Linked DNA regions of Homo sapiens: all the other regions are linked to region 3. Evidence: promoter capture Hi-C in 16 types of primary human blood cells and fetal thymus (Javierre and others, 2016). All regions are on one chromosome and are shown on one strand. The core of a region is centred on a gene start or on the middle of the fragment in contact, and the rest is flanking DNA. Distances in the headings are between cores, read along the strand shown. Region 1 has its middle 5.6 kb from the start of TRW-CCA4-1. Region 2 overlaps LINC02453 (long intergenic non-protein coding RNA 2453). Region 3 holds the start of RLIG1 (RNA 5'-phosphate and 3'-OH ligase 1).

Region 1 (3,876 bases), core at 296-2,795, about 10 Mb after region 3:
GAGAGGGTTCTTGAACCTCACACAAGAAAGAATTCAAGGCGAGTCCATAAAATGAAAGCAAGTTTATTAGGTAAAGGAATAAAGAATGGCTACTCCATAGGCAGAGCAGCCCAGAGGGCTGCTGATTGCCCATTTTTGTGGTTATTTCTTCATTATATGCTAAACAAGGGGTGGATTATTCATGCCTCCCCTTTTTAGACCATATAGGGTAACCTCCTGACATTGCCATGGCATTTGTAAACTGTCATGGTGCTGGTGGGAGTGTAGCAGTGAGGACAACCAGAGGTCACTCTCATCGCCATCTTGGTTTTGGTGGGTTTTGGCAGGCTACTGCAACCTGTTTCACCAGCAAGGTCTTTATGACCTGTGTCTTTTTTTTTTTTTTTTTTTTTTTTTTTGAGACAGAGTCTCACTCTCGCCCAGGCTGGAGTGCAGTGGTGCAATCTCAGCTCACTGCAACCTCCACCTCCCAGGTTCAAGCAATTCTTCTGCCTCAGCCTCCTGAGTAGCTGGGACTACAGGCACGCGCCACCACGCCCAGCTAATTTTTGTATTTTTAGTAGAGACAGGGTTTCACCATGTTGGTCAGGCTGGTCTCGAACTCCTGACCTCGTGATCCACCTGCCTTGGCCTCCCAAAGTGCTGGGATTACAGGCGTGAGCCACCGTGCCCGGCCTATGACCTGTATCTTCTGCCGACCTCCTATCTCGTCTTGTGACTTAAAATGCCTTAACTGTCTGGGAATGCAGCCCAGTAGGTCTTTTCTTTTTTTTTTTTTTTTTTTTTTGAGACGGAGTTTTGCTCGTTGTCCAGGCTGGACTGCAATGGCGCGATCTTGGCTCACTACAACCTCCGCCTCCCGGGTTCAAGCGATTCTTCTGCCTCAGCCTCCTGAGTAGCTGGGATTACAGGCATGTGCCACCACGCCCAGCTAATTTTGTATTTTTAGTAGAGACAGGGTTTCTCCATGTTGATCAGGCTGGTCTCAAACTCCCGACCTCAGGTGATCCACCCACCTTGGCCTCCCAAAGTGCTGGGATTACAGGCATGGGCCACCGTGCACGGCCTTACCCACCCTTTTTTCAACATGGAGGTGCTGTGATTCAAACCCCTCTAACATCAGGACCCCAAAAATGACTAAGCCAAAGGGAAAGTCAAGCTGGGAACTGCTTAGGGCAAACCTGCCTCCCATTCTACTCCTAAAAAAAAAGATAGCTACTAAGATAAAAAAGCTATATATACCTCCCTCACAATTTGACCACAAAGAAATTCCTTGTGGACAAAGGACAGATAGAGATTTAAAAAGTCATCCCTCTGCTCATATGAGATAAATGCATATCTGATTGCCCTTTTGTTTCCCTAAGCCAGACTAACATAAGTGACTATTCCTGTAAATAGTGTATTCAGTGAAAGGCTAATCAGCAACTCAAAAGAATGCAACCATTGGTCTTTTATCTACCTATGACCTGGAACACCCCGGAGCCCCCCAACCCCCACTTGTATTAATAGCTGTCCCGCCTTTCTGGATGGGACCATTGTACATCTTAAACATATTGATTGATGTCTCATGTCTCCCTAAAATGTATAAAACCAAGCTGTGCCACACAACCTTGGGCACATGTCGTCAGGACCTCCTGAGGCTGTGTCATGGGTGTGTCCTTAACCTTGGCAAAATAAACTTTCTAAATTGATTGAGACCTGTCTCCGATTCTCTTGGTTTACAGAGCGATGTATTCTGGACGAACTAATAAAATTGAGCTTTTGGACACGCAGAATTGAAATGCAGACCTGAATTCTGATAAGCCAAATGGTTCTCCAACTTAGCACTCTCACTTAAAAAGAAAAATATGGTTTTAAAATCATATGTGTTCATTGTGGAAATCTAGGGAAATACAGACATATAAATAAAAAGAAAATAAGAATCACCTGTGCCTCACTATCCAAGAGAAAGTACTCCACTTTGATGTATATTATTTTTTTTCTTTTCTTTTCTTTTTTTTTTTTTTTTTTTTGCCTCCCCAATAGCTGGGAGTACAGGAGCACACCAGCATGCCAGCTAATTTTTTTTTTTTCTTTTTTTTTGAGACTGAGTTCCGCTCTTGCCCAGGCTGGAGTGCAATGGCGAGATCTTGGCTCACTGCAACCTCCGCCTCCCAGGTTCAGGTGATTCTTCTGCCTCAGCCTCCCAAGTAGCTGGGGATTACAGGTGCCCACCACCACACCTGGATAATTACTGTATTTTTAGTAGAGACAGGGTTTCGCCACGTTGGCCAGGCTGGTCTTGAACCCCTGACCTTGGGTGATCCGCCCGCCTCGGCCTCCCAAAGTGCTGGGATTACAGACGTGAGCCACCGTGCCCGGCCCCACCTAATTTTTGGTTATTTTTAGTAGAGACTGGGGTCTCCCTATGTTGCCCAGGCTGGTCTCAAACTCCTGAGCTCAAGGGATCCTCCCACCTCAGCCTTCCAAAGTACTGGGATTATAGGTGACAGCCACCAAGCCAGCCTCATATTCTTAAATGTCAAAACATGATTTTTTACTACTGTGCATTATTTTGTCATATGGATATATCATAAACAACCAATTCCTTACTATTGGAGATAGAGATTTTTTATTTTTTTCACCATTATAAATGAAGCAATAAATACCTTTATAAATGAATTCCACATTTGATTTTATCTTTAGAATAAATTATCAGAAATGGCTTAAGGGAGCTAAACTTTTTTTTTTTTTGAGAGACCGAGTCTCGTTCTGTTGCCCAGGCTGGAGTGCAATGGTGCCATCTCAGCTCACTGCAACCTCCGCCTCCCGGGTTCAAGGGATTCTCCCACCTCAGCCTCCCAAGTAGCTGGGATTACAGGCGCATGCCACCAGGCACGGCTAACTTTTGTATTTTCAGTAGAGAGGGGCTTCCACCATGTTGGTCAGGCTGGTCTCGAACTCCTGATGTGATCTGCCCGCCTTGGCCTCCCCAAGTGCTGGGATTACCGGTGTGAGCCACCGCTCCTGGCCCCTCTTATTATTTTTTTTTAAGATGGAGTCTTGATCGGTCGCCCAGGCTGGAGTGCAGTGGCACGATCTCGGCTCACTGCAACCTCTGCCTCCCGGGTTCAAGCGATTCTCCTACCTCAGCCTCCCTAGTAGCTGAGATTACAGGCGCCCACCACAAGGCCCAGCTAATTTTTTAATTTCTTGGCCAGGCTGAGCTCGAACTCATGACTTCAAGTGATCCGCCCACCCCAGCCTCCCAAAGTGCTGGAATTACAGGCATGAGCCACGACGCCCGGCCGAGAACTAAACATTTTTTAAGGTTTTTAGCTTCTTACTATTTTACATCACTTAAAGTGCAACTTACCCTCCTGTTTGAGGTGACACCCTTAAATTCACAACCAATCCTCCGCAAAATGGGATAATGAAAAACAAAGCCAGCTGTATGTTAATAATATTAAGAACTTCAAAAAAAGAATGGAGGCAGTTATCCAGGTGATTTTTGTTTGTTTGTTTGTTTTGAGATGGAGTTTCGCTCGTGTTGCCCAGGCTGGAATGCAATTGCACGATCTCGGTTCACCACAACCTCCGCCTCCCGGGTTCAAGTGATTCTCCTGCCTCAGCCTCCCGTGTAGCTTGGATTACAGGCATGCGCCACCACGCCAGGCTAATTTTGTATTTTTAGTAGAGACGGGGTTTCTCCACATGGTCTCAAATTCCCGACCTCAGGTGATCTGCCTGCCTCAGCCTCCCAAAGTGCTGGGATTACAGGCGTGAGCCACCGGGCCCACCTCCAGATGATTTTTTTTTAAGTTATGGGAAAGTTTTCTGATTTAAAAAAAAAAAAAATTGCATCAGGCCAGACGCAGTGGCTCATGCCTGTAATCC
Region 2 (4,132 bases), core at 1,044-3,543, about 10 Mb after region 3:
CCCAAACTAGCTCTAGAGAAAAGATACTCAACCTCTTTAATAATGAGGAAAATATAGAAACAAATCAATAATAAGATGCCTTGGAAGGATTTGAAAGACAGGAATGATAGGTTCAGAATGGTTTCAAAACTTGTCCAACTTTTCTAACATGGTGATATCTGTGTAAAAAAAAAAAAAAACTTGTCCAGCTTTGATTTGAAATTGTAATGCAGTCTTCTGGATGTATCTCCTGAAATAGAAATGATGAAAACATCATTGTTGAATTGAGGAAAAATGGTGTTATACTAACAAATTTCAGCTCTTACACCCAGCACAGAAAACTAGAATAAAAAAAAAAAAAAACTAATATTAGAATCATTATTCATACCCTTTTGCCTGGCAGTCAGTTTCCCAGCCTCTGTGTGGCCCAATAGTGGTTAATGAAACAGGAAAACAACTGTCAGGATTTCCCTGGAAAGGCTTTCTCCCAGTAAAAAGGGACATTCAAAAGTATAGTGTGCTGGAGCTGCCTCTTCCCTCATGTTCCAGCCTTGAAACTGGCCATGATGGCTGCAGCAGCTACTTTGCAGACATGAAGTGACAATCATGAAAAGAAATGTCCTTTTGCTAAAGGTAGCAGAGAAGAAAGACCCAGAACAAGAAGAGAGTACTCAAAGCCTATGATGGCCTTGTTGAGCTGCCAGACCAACCCCAACATCACTCAAGAGAATTGTTGTGAGTTAGAAATGGGAGAGAAGTTGGGCATGTGTTTCATGCCTATAATTCCAGCACTTTGGGAGGCCGAGGCAGGCAGATCACTTGAGGCCAGGAGTTCGACACCAGTCTGGCCAACCTAGTGAAACCCTGTCTCTACTAAAAAATACAAAACTTACCCGGGCATGGTGGCATGCCTATAATCCCAGCTACTCTGGAGGCTGAGGCAGAAGAACTGCTTGAAGCCGAGAGGCAGAGGTTGCAACAAGCTGGGATCACGCCATTGCACTCCAGCCTGGGTGACAGAAAGAAGCTTGTCTCAAAAAAAAAAAAAAAAAGAAAGAAAAGAGAAGAAAAAATGGGAGAAAGACTTTCCTCTCCATACCTTATACCTCCTGGTATCTGGTACTTTTTGAACTTTGTTCTGTGTGCATGAATTGCCTATTCAAATAAAACTGTAATGCCTGAGGTTTTTTTGTTTGTTTGTTTGTTGTTGTTTTTTTTTGAGATGGAGTTTCACTCTTGTTGCCCAGGCTAGAGTGCAATGGTGTGATCTCGGCTCACTGCAACCTCTACCTCCCAGGTTCAAGCAATTCTCCTGCCTCAGCCTCCCGAGCTGGGATTACAGGCGCATGCCACCATGCCAGGCTAATTTTGTATTTTTAGTAGAGATGGGGTTTCACCATGTTGGCCAGGCTGCTCTCGAACTCCTGACCTCAGGTGATCTACCCGCCTCAGCCTCCCAAAGTGCTGGGATTGCAGGCATGGGCCACCACGCCTGAGATCTTATCAATCAAGTATTTAAACCAAAAATATTTTACATCTACATTTTTTTAGTGGAAATACAATTTTAAAAAGCACAGTTTAGCCAGGTGCAGTGGCTCACACCTGCAATCCCAGCACTTTGGAAGGCTGAGGCAGGCAGATCACCTGAGGTCTGGAGTTCAAAACCAGTCTGGCCAACATGGCGAAATCCTGTCTCTACTAAAAATACAAAAAAAAAGAAAAAAAAAATCAGCCAGGCATGGTGGCGGACGCCTGTAATCCCAGCTACTCGGGAGGCTGAAGCAGGGAGAAATGCTTGAACCCGGGAGGTGGAGGTTGCAGTGAGCCGAGATCGTGGCACTATACTCCAGCCTGGGTGACAGAGTGAGACTCGGGCTCAAAAAAAAAAAAAAAAGGCACAGTTTGAGGGTGGGGGCTCGCACATGTAATCCCAGAACTTTAGAAGGCTGAGGAGGGAGGATCTCCTAAGCCCAAGAGACCAGGCTGGGCAACAAAGTGAGATCTCATCTCTATAAAAACCAAACAAAACAGTCTGGTGAAAAATGCGATAGAATGAAGTATATTATAGACAAAAGGGACCTTCAGTATCAACTCTCACATATTGATTGTCGATGAAGAAAAGAGTCAAACTCTGTAAAATATTTGAAGAGACTTATTCTGAGCCAAATATGAGTGACCATGGCCAGTGACACAGCCCCAGGAAATCCTGAGAACGTGTGCTCAAAGTGGTCGGACTACAGCTTTTTATTACACATTTTAGAGAGACAGAAGACATCAAAAAATACATGTAAGATGTACATTGGTTCAGTGAGGGTGGATGGGGCGCTTCTACATCATGAGTGAATTCAAAGATTTTCTGATTGGGAGTTAGTTGAAAGAGTTTATCTAAAGACCTGAAATTTATAGAAGGGAGTGCCTGAATTAAGATAAGGGGTTGCGAAAACCAAGGTTCTTGTTATGCAGATAAAGCCTCCAGGTAGCAGGCTTCAGAAAGAACACATTGTAATTATTTCTGGGTCTCACTCCATCACCCAGGCTGGAGTGCAGTGGTGCAATCTCAGCTAACTGCAGCCTCAACCTCCCAGGCTCAAGCCATCCTCGCACCTCTCAGCCTCTGGAGTAGCTGGGATTACAGATGCGCGCCACTACGTCCTGGTAATTTTTGTATTTTTAGTAGAGACAGGGTTTCACCGTGTTGCCCAGACTTATCTCGAACTCCTGGGCTCAAGCAACCCACCTGCCTCGGCTTCCCAAAGTGCTGGGATTACAGGAGTGGGCCACAGCACCAGGTCAGATTGTAAAACTTTTAATTTTTATTTATTTTTTTTATTTTATTTTATTTTATTTTATTTTTTGAGACGAAGTTTCGCTCTTGTTGCCCAGGCTGGAGTGCAATGGTGTGATCTCGGCTCACTGCAACCTCCACCTCCCAGGTTCAAGTAATTCTCCTGCCTCAGCCTCCCAAGTAGCTAGGATTACAGGCGCCCACACCCCCACCCCATGCCTGGCTAATTTTTGTATTAGCCAGAGATGGGGTTTCACCATGTTGGCCTGGCTGGTCTCGAACTCCTGACCTTCAGGTGATTCACCTGCCTTGGCCTCCCAAAGTGCTGGGATTATAGGCGTGAGTCACCATGCCCAGCCAAAAATTTTATTTTTTACCTTTTTAAGGTGCAAGACTCTCAGTAAATTCTCTCCTGGTTAAGGAAAAATATCTGGAAAGGGAAGGGGATTCTCTACTGAAAGTAGATTTTCCCCACAAGAGACACCTTTGCAGGGCCATTTCAAAATGTGTCAAAAATATATATATATTTTTTGGGGTAAACTACTTCAATTTACTTCAGGGCCTGCTGTCTGTCATGTTGGTATCTTACTGCTACAAAAAGCCTTCTTTGTCAGACTTATGTTAATGCTGGTCAGATGTGCCTGAATCCCAAAGGGACTCTGTCCCAAAGGGAGGAGAGTATAATGAGGCTTGTCTGACCACCTGTTCCCATCATGACATGAACTAGCGTTTCAGGTAACTTTGGAATGCCCCTGGACAAGGAGGCATCCATTCAACTGATTGGGGAGCTTAGAATTTTATTTTTGGTCTACATGGTAAAGCTTAAAGTTGCGGAAATCATTATCCTCAGTCAAGCTAAAGCCTAGGTATCCAGACCTCTCTTTCACCTAATTTATTTGCAATTAATCCAAAGTTCTAGGCCAGGCACAGTGACTCACACCTGTAAACCCAGTCCTTTGGGAGGCGGAAGCATGGAGGATCACCCGAGGCCAGGAATTCAAGGCTGCAGTGAGCTAAGATTGCACCACTGCTCTCCCGCCTGGGTGACAGAGCAAGACCCTGTCTCTAAAAGAAATTTTTAAAACAAATAACAAAGTACTGGTTTATGCTGTATTTATAAAACAACATATGTAGTAAGATTTTCTTAGTTTTAGAACCCAGAAAGCTGTGCCAAATGCTTTGAGAGTTGACTTATTTCCTATTAGGTTTTTTAAATACTTGCAGTCCAGATACTGCTTTTAATTTTTTAAAAAACAGTATCCATACTTACAGGCTCTGATTAAGTTTCAAAGACTAAGCCTGCCATGCTTGTCGGTGTGTGATTCCTTCCTCTAAGATTCCAGACATTCCCGTCTCCAGGCATCACTG
Region 3 (3,872 bases), core at 1,057-3,556:
TTCAGTTCTATTCTTTACTGTTGTGAATTTCATTCTGGTCTTAAAAAAAAAAAAAGCTGTTACGGCCAGGCGTGGTGGCTCACACCTGTAATCCTAGCACTTTGGGAGGCAGAGGTGGGCAGATCATGAGGTCAGGGGTTCAAGACCAGCCTGACCAACATGATGAAACACTGTCTCTACTAAAAAAAATACAAAACCTAGCTGGGCGTGGTGGCACACGCCTGTAATCCCAGCTACTCAGGAGACTGAGGCGGGAGAATCGCTTGAACCCAAGCCGTGGAGATTGCAGTGAGCCAAGATTGAGCCACTGCACTCCAGCTTGGGTGATAGAGCGAGACTCCATCTAAAAAAAAAAAAAAGCTATTACAGCCCTATGAGGATGATTACTCCTGTAATGAAGAATGATGGGAAATTTGTCTCCAGGGCTGGAAGTAGGCCTGAAAATTCTGTAAGTACTTTGTGTTGGCCAAAGCAGGCTCACATTGTGTGTCTTTCATCTTTGATGCTTACTAGAGCACTAACATATTAGTCAGAGAAGAAAGACTTTCTTCTATTTTGTAATCCTGTGACACCACTTTAAGTACAGTGGCTGGTAGCAACTCCTTGGTGACCCTTCAGAATTATGAGAATCGGGCAAAGTTGATGGCTGCTACCCGTCAGAGCAGGAGTCCAGTTTATAACCGTGAGTTGATCCTGTGCCTCTCCCCTGATGAGGATTTGTGTTTCTGCCAGAAGCTTTGCTCCAGGTACTGATGAAACCAAAGTTTTGGAAATAGAAAGTGCTTCCTGAGAGATGACTAGCTTTGCAACTACTATTCAAAGAATAAGTAGAGTGTGTTTTAGAAGATGAGTATTTCCCACAAATGACAGAATGTTGGACTTAAAAGGTTCTGTGGCAGTTTGGGAGGTGACAGTTGATAGTTGTGAAAGTTGTTGTCTCTGAGATTCGTGAAACACGCCGCTTTTTAGAATGCCTCTGAAAGAACAAAGAAGTCACTGGCACTCGACTATAATATGCTAAAAAGTTTCTGGTTCCAACAGCACACAGCCAGCATCAGGTGTTTTCTTTTTTGATAAATGCAGGCGGGGTGTGATGTGGGAGAACATTTTGTGTTTTCCTGTGAGAAAAAGATAGTAGAAAAGAAAGTAAACACTTTGAAATGGCAAATCTCTTTCTTCCTCCCTCCCCTCTGAATCCAGTAATCAAAAAACTGTGAACTTTTTTTAAATTTTATTTTTTTTCACTGTCAGTATTCAATATAACTGTGAACTTTTTAAAGGAAGATGTTTTATTCTTTGAGAACCCCCTTACTAGTTAGATACCTCTAAGTGAGATATAGTTGTTTAATTTTTCCAAGGGCTAAGTCAGTAACATGCTGGACAGTTGAGTACATGCAGATAAGACAAAGAAATGAGACCTGGGCCTAGTCCAAGCCCATAAAGGATGGCAGTAAAGTCAAAATTCCCCTACAACTTCAGGCTAGGAACTACTACATTCAATGAGATGGAAAGGCTACTATTCCTAAATATTTAGTATTTATTTTATTTAGTCATTGTCCATCTTATCACTTACCCTCAAAATATTCTTTTGAGCAGTAAGTTAAGGCTGTTTTTAGCTCGCAGTTGATTGACTACCATTACTCAAGCCATTTGGGCTGTTGGAGCTCACCTTTAATTAAACAAGATTCTTATGAAAAACTTGAGAATGAAATCTGGTTGTAGGTATTCCTGTACTTTTGGATTAGTCTAAGGCTGAAATTTCGCACTCACTCCGAAAAGAACATCAGAATCATTTCGACCATGCTATGCTGCACAATAAGGAGTAGTTCAAACGACAACTTTTTTTGATCCCAGGTGTTTTATTATAGGGTTTTCTGATAGTCTTACCGGAAAGGAAGTTTTCATTCTGCTTGGGAATCTGGGGATGTCTCTAGCCATTTCTAAACTTCTACAGTGCTTCCCCCACGAACTAAAGATAACAGGCAAGCAGTTTCCATTGGAACTGTGTTAAATCGACATCTGAAATGTTCATTGCTTATAATTTGATCTTATTTAATTTCCCAAAAAATCATTAGTTACTAGGTATTGCTAAGTACCCACGTTCGGGAAACGCATCTTTTTTTTTTTTTTTTCACGGTTATTAAAACCGAGGGTGGGGGGCGGAGGACGCACGTGGGAACCCACCAGGCGCCTCAGCTTCTGCACTACAACTCCCAGAAGGCGCCGCGGCCAGGAAGCCGCTTCTGGACGGGCGTTCCCGCCCCTCGCTGGGCTTGGTAGTTGGGGCGCAGCCGCGGTGGCTGGGCGCGGAGTGTGCGTGGCCTGAGCCGTGCGGGTGACTGCTTCAGGGCTTCTCCGCGACTGGACCGGGCGCCGCTCGAAAGCACGCCCTCCATTCGCACTGCTTGTTGGGCTCATCATGAAGCGCTTGGGCTCCGTGCAGCGGAAAATGCCGTGTGTGTTTGTGACGGAGGTGAAAGAGGAGCCTTCCTCCAAAAGGGAGCATCAGGTACGGAGGAGCGCCGGGCAGGCTTGGCGGCCCGCGTGGGCTCCTCCCCGCGGCGCTGGCTCAGTGCGAACCCGGCGAGGGCGGCTGGGCGCTTTAGAACTGCCCTGCAGGCCAGGAACCTCTGTAGGTTTCCCTGGGGAGGTCTGGGGTGGGAGTTCCGTACGCCCTGAGCTCCAGGTTCTTGTACTTTTCTTAGTTGTGAGGGAGGGAATTTGCGAAAGAATTTTCCTTATCAGGAGATTCAAACTTGTCCTCGCAAGGAAATGGATAACTCACATCCACAGCATGTCCCTTCCTTTTCAGGTCAGCACCTTTTGGGGAAACCCCCTAATCAGGTAATTGCCACAGTCCAAGCTTTACTACTTTTCAAGAGTGCAGTAAGAAAGGGTGGATATTAGAAGACTTGCTTTACCTGTTCTGTCCGAACCAGTGGCGGTGTTGACAGTAGCCTAATTAGGTCACTGAAGTTCACACCTCATATTACCAGTAATTACTTAATTTATTCTAACTTTGGTGTTCTCAAGGTTTTCTGTTGCAGCAACGTGTTTTCCATAGTGTGCCCTCGGTAAATGCTAGTGAGTAACCTATATTTGGGTAATTTTTTCATATTGTACTATAAAACGTTGTAGTCTTTGATCAGTAGAATCCCCAGTGATTAGTTGGGTGCTTCCCAACTTTGCTGATTTCAAACAAAACCAACATGTCCATTGGAAATCCACCTCACTTGAGTTTCATCATTGGCACTGGCTTTCTCGTCTTCTGGACTAAAACTTGTTTAAGGCAAAGATTGCCCTGTTATCTTTAGTCCCAGCTTCTAGGACCTGGCACGTGGTAGGCACTGGATAAATATTTGTTGAATTAAAGAATGAACCCTGGAATCATTTCATGCCAGTTTTCCATTCACCTTGATGCTTTTTACCTTATAGCATCTGATCTTTTCCTGCTTTCTAGTGCTGTCACAGCTGTTACAGTTAATATTTCATGTCCTGCTCATTGCACCACCTAACTGGTCTTACTTGCCACTCAGACTGATCATCACCATGTTCTTTCCTCGTCAGAATACCACAGTTATTACTCAATGTTTGTAGCAGTAATTGGCTTTTTTTTTTAGCTGTAACAAATGTAATCCATATGAAACATTATCATCTGTTTTAGTATTTCACTCTACTGTGATTTTCAACTTCGTATGTTTGAGGGGAGTAGTTTGTGAAAGTATTCTCCACCAGGGAAAATAAGCAGCCCCTTCTCTTACCTCTCTGCAGTTAAGAACAGCTTACAGTATCGTTTATAGCATAGCATCCACATTCTTAATTATAATTCAGGGCCTCCCACTAATGAGGCTCAATCTACCTTCCATCGTCCT

What was found. Contacts are between HindIII fragments. The CHiCAGO score rates a contact against its expected background, and 5 or more counts as called.
Region 1: a contact is called between a fragment that was not itself captured here and the fragment with the promoter of RLIG1 in region 3, in 4 of 17 cell types (naive CD4 T cells, total CD4 T cells, activated CD4 T cells and 1 more). The highest score is 9.1, in naive CD4 T cells.
Region 2: a contact is called between a fragment that was not itself captured here and the fragment with the promoter of RLIG1 in region 3, in 1 of 17 cell types (non-activated CD4 T cells). The highest score is 9.0, in non-activated CD4 T cells.

The regions. Positions count from the first base shown.
Region 1 is chr12:98,507,874-98,511,749 of GRCh38, forward strand. No RefSeq gene overlaps it. Among named protein-coding and RNA genes, the nearest start is that of TRW-CCA4-1, 5.6 kb to the left of the region's middle. RefSeq lists enhancers at 496-1,039, 3,685-3,876. The HindIII fragment of the contact is 8,186 bases long and covers 1-3,876 here.
Region 2 is chr12:98,486,960-98,491,091 of GRCh38, forward strand. LINC02453 (long intergenic non-protein coding RNA 2453) reads right to left here. Exons shown (of 4, transcript NR_038383.1): 4 at 1-229. Among named protein-coding and RNA genes, the nearest start is that of TRD-GTC1-1, 14 kb to the right of the region's middle. RefSeq lists a silencer at 3,572-3,866. The HindIII fragment of the contact is 2,579 bases long and covers 1,005-3,583 here.
Region 3 is chr12:88,033,230-88,037,101 of GRCh38, forward strand. It overlaps RLIG1 (RNA 5'-phosphate and 3'-OH ligase 1), which reads left to right and starts at 2,307. Exons shown (of 7, transcript NM_001009894.3): 1 at 2,307-2,509. The coding sequence starts at 2,420. LOC107984542 (a long non-coding RNA gene) reads right to left here and starts at 2,267. Exons shown (of 3, transcript XR_007063395.1): 1 at 2,185-2,267; 2 at 482-1,118; 3 at 1-39. The HindIII fragment of the contact is 2,128 bases long and covers 734-2,861 here.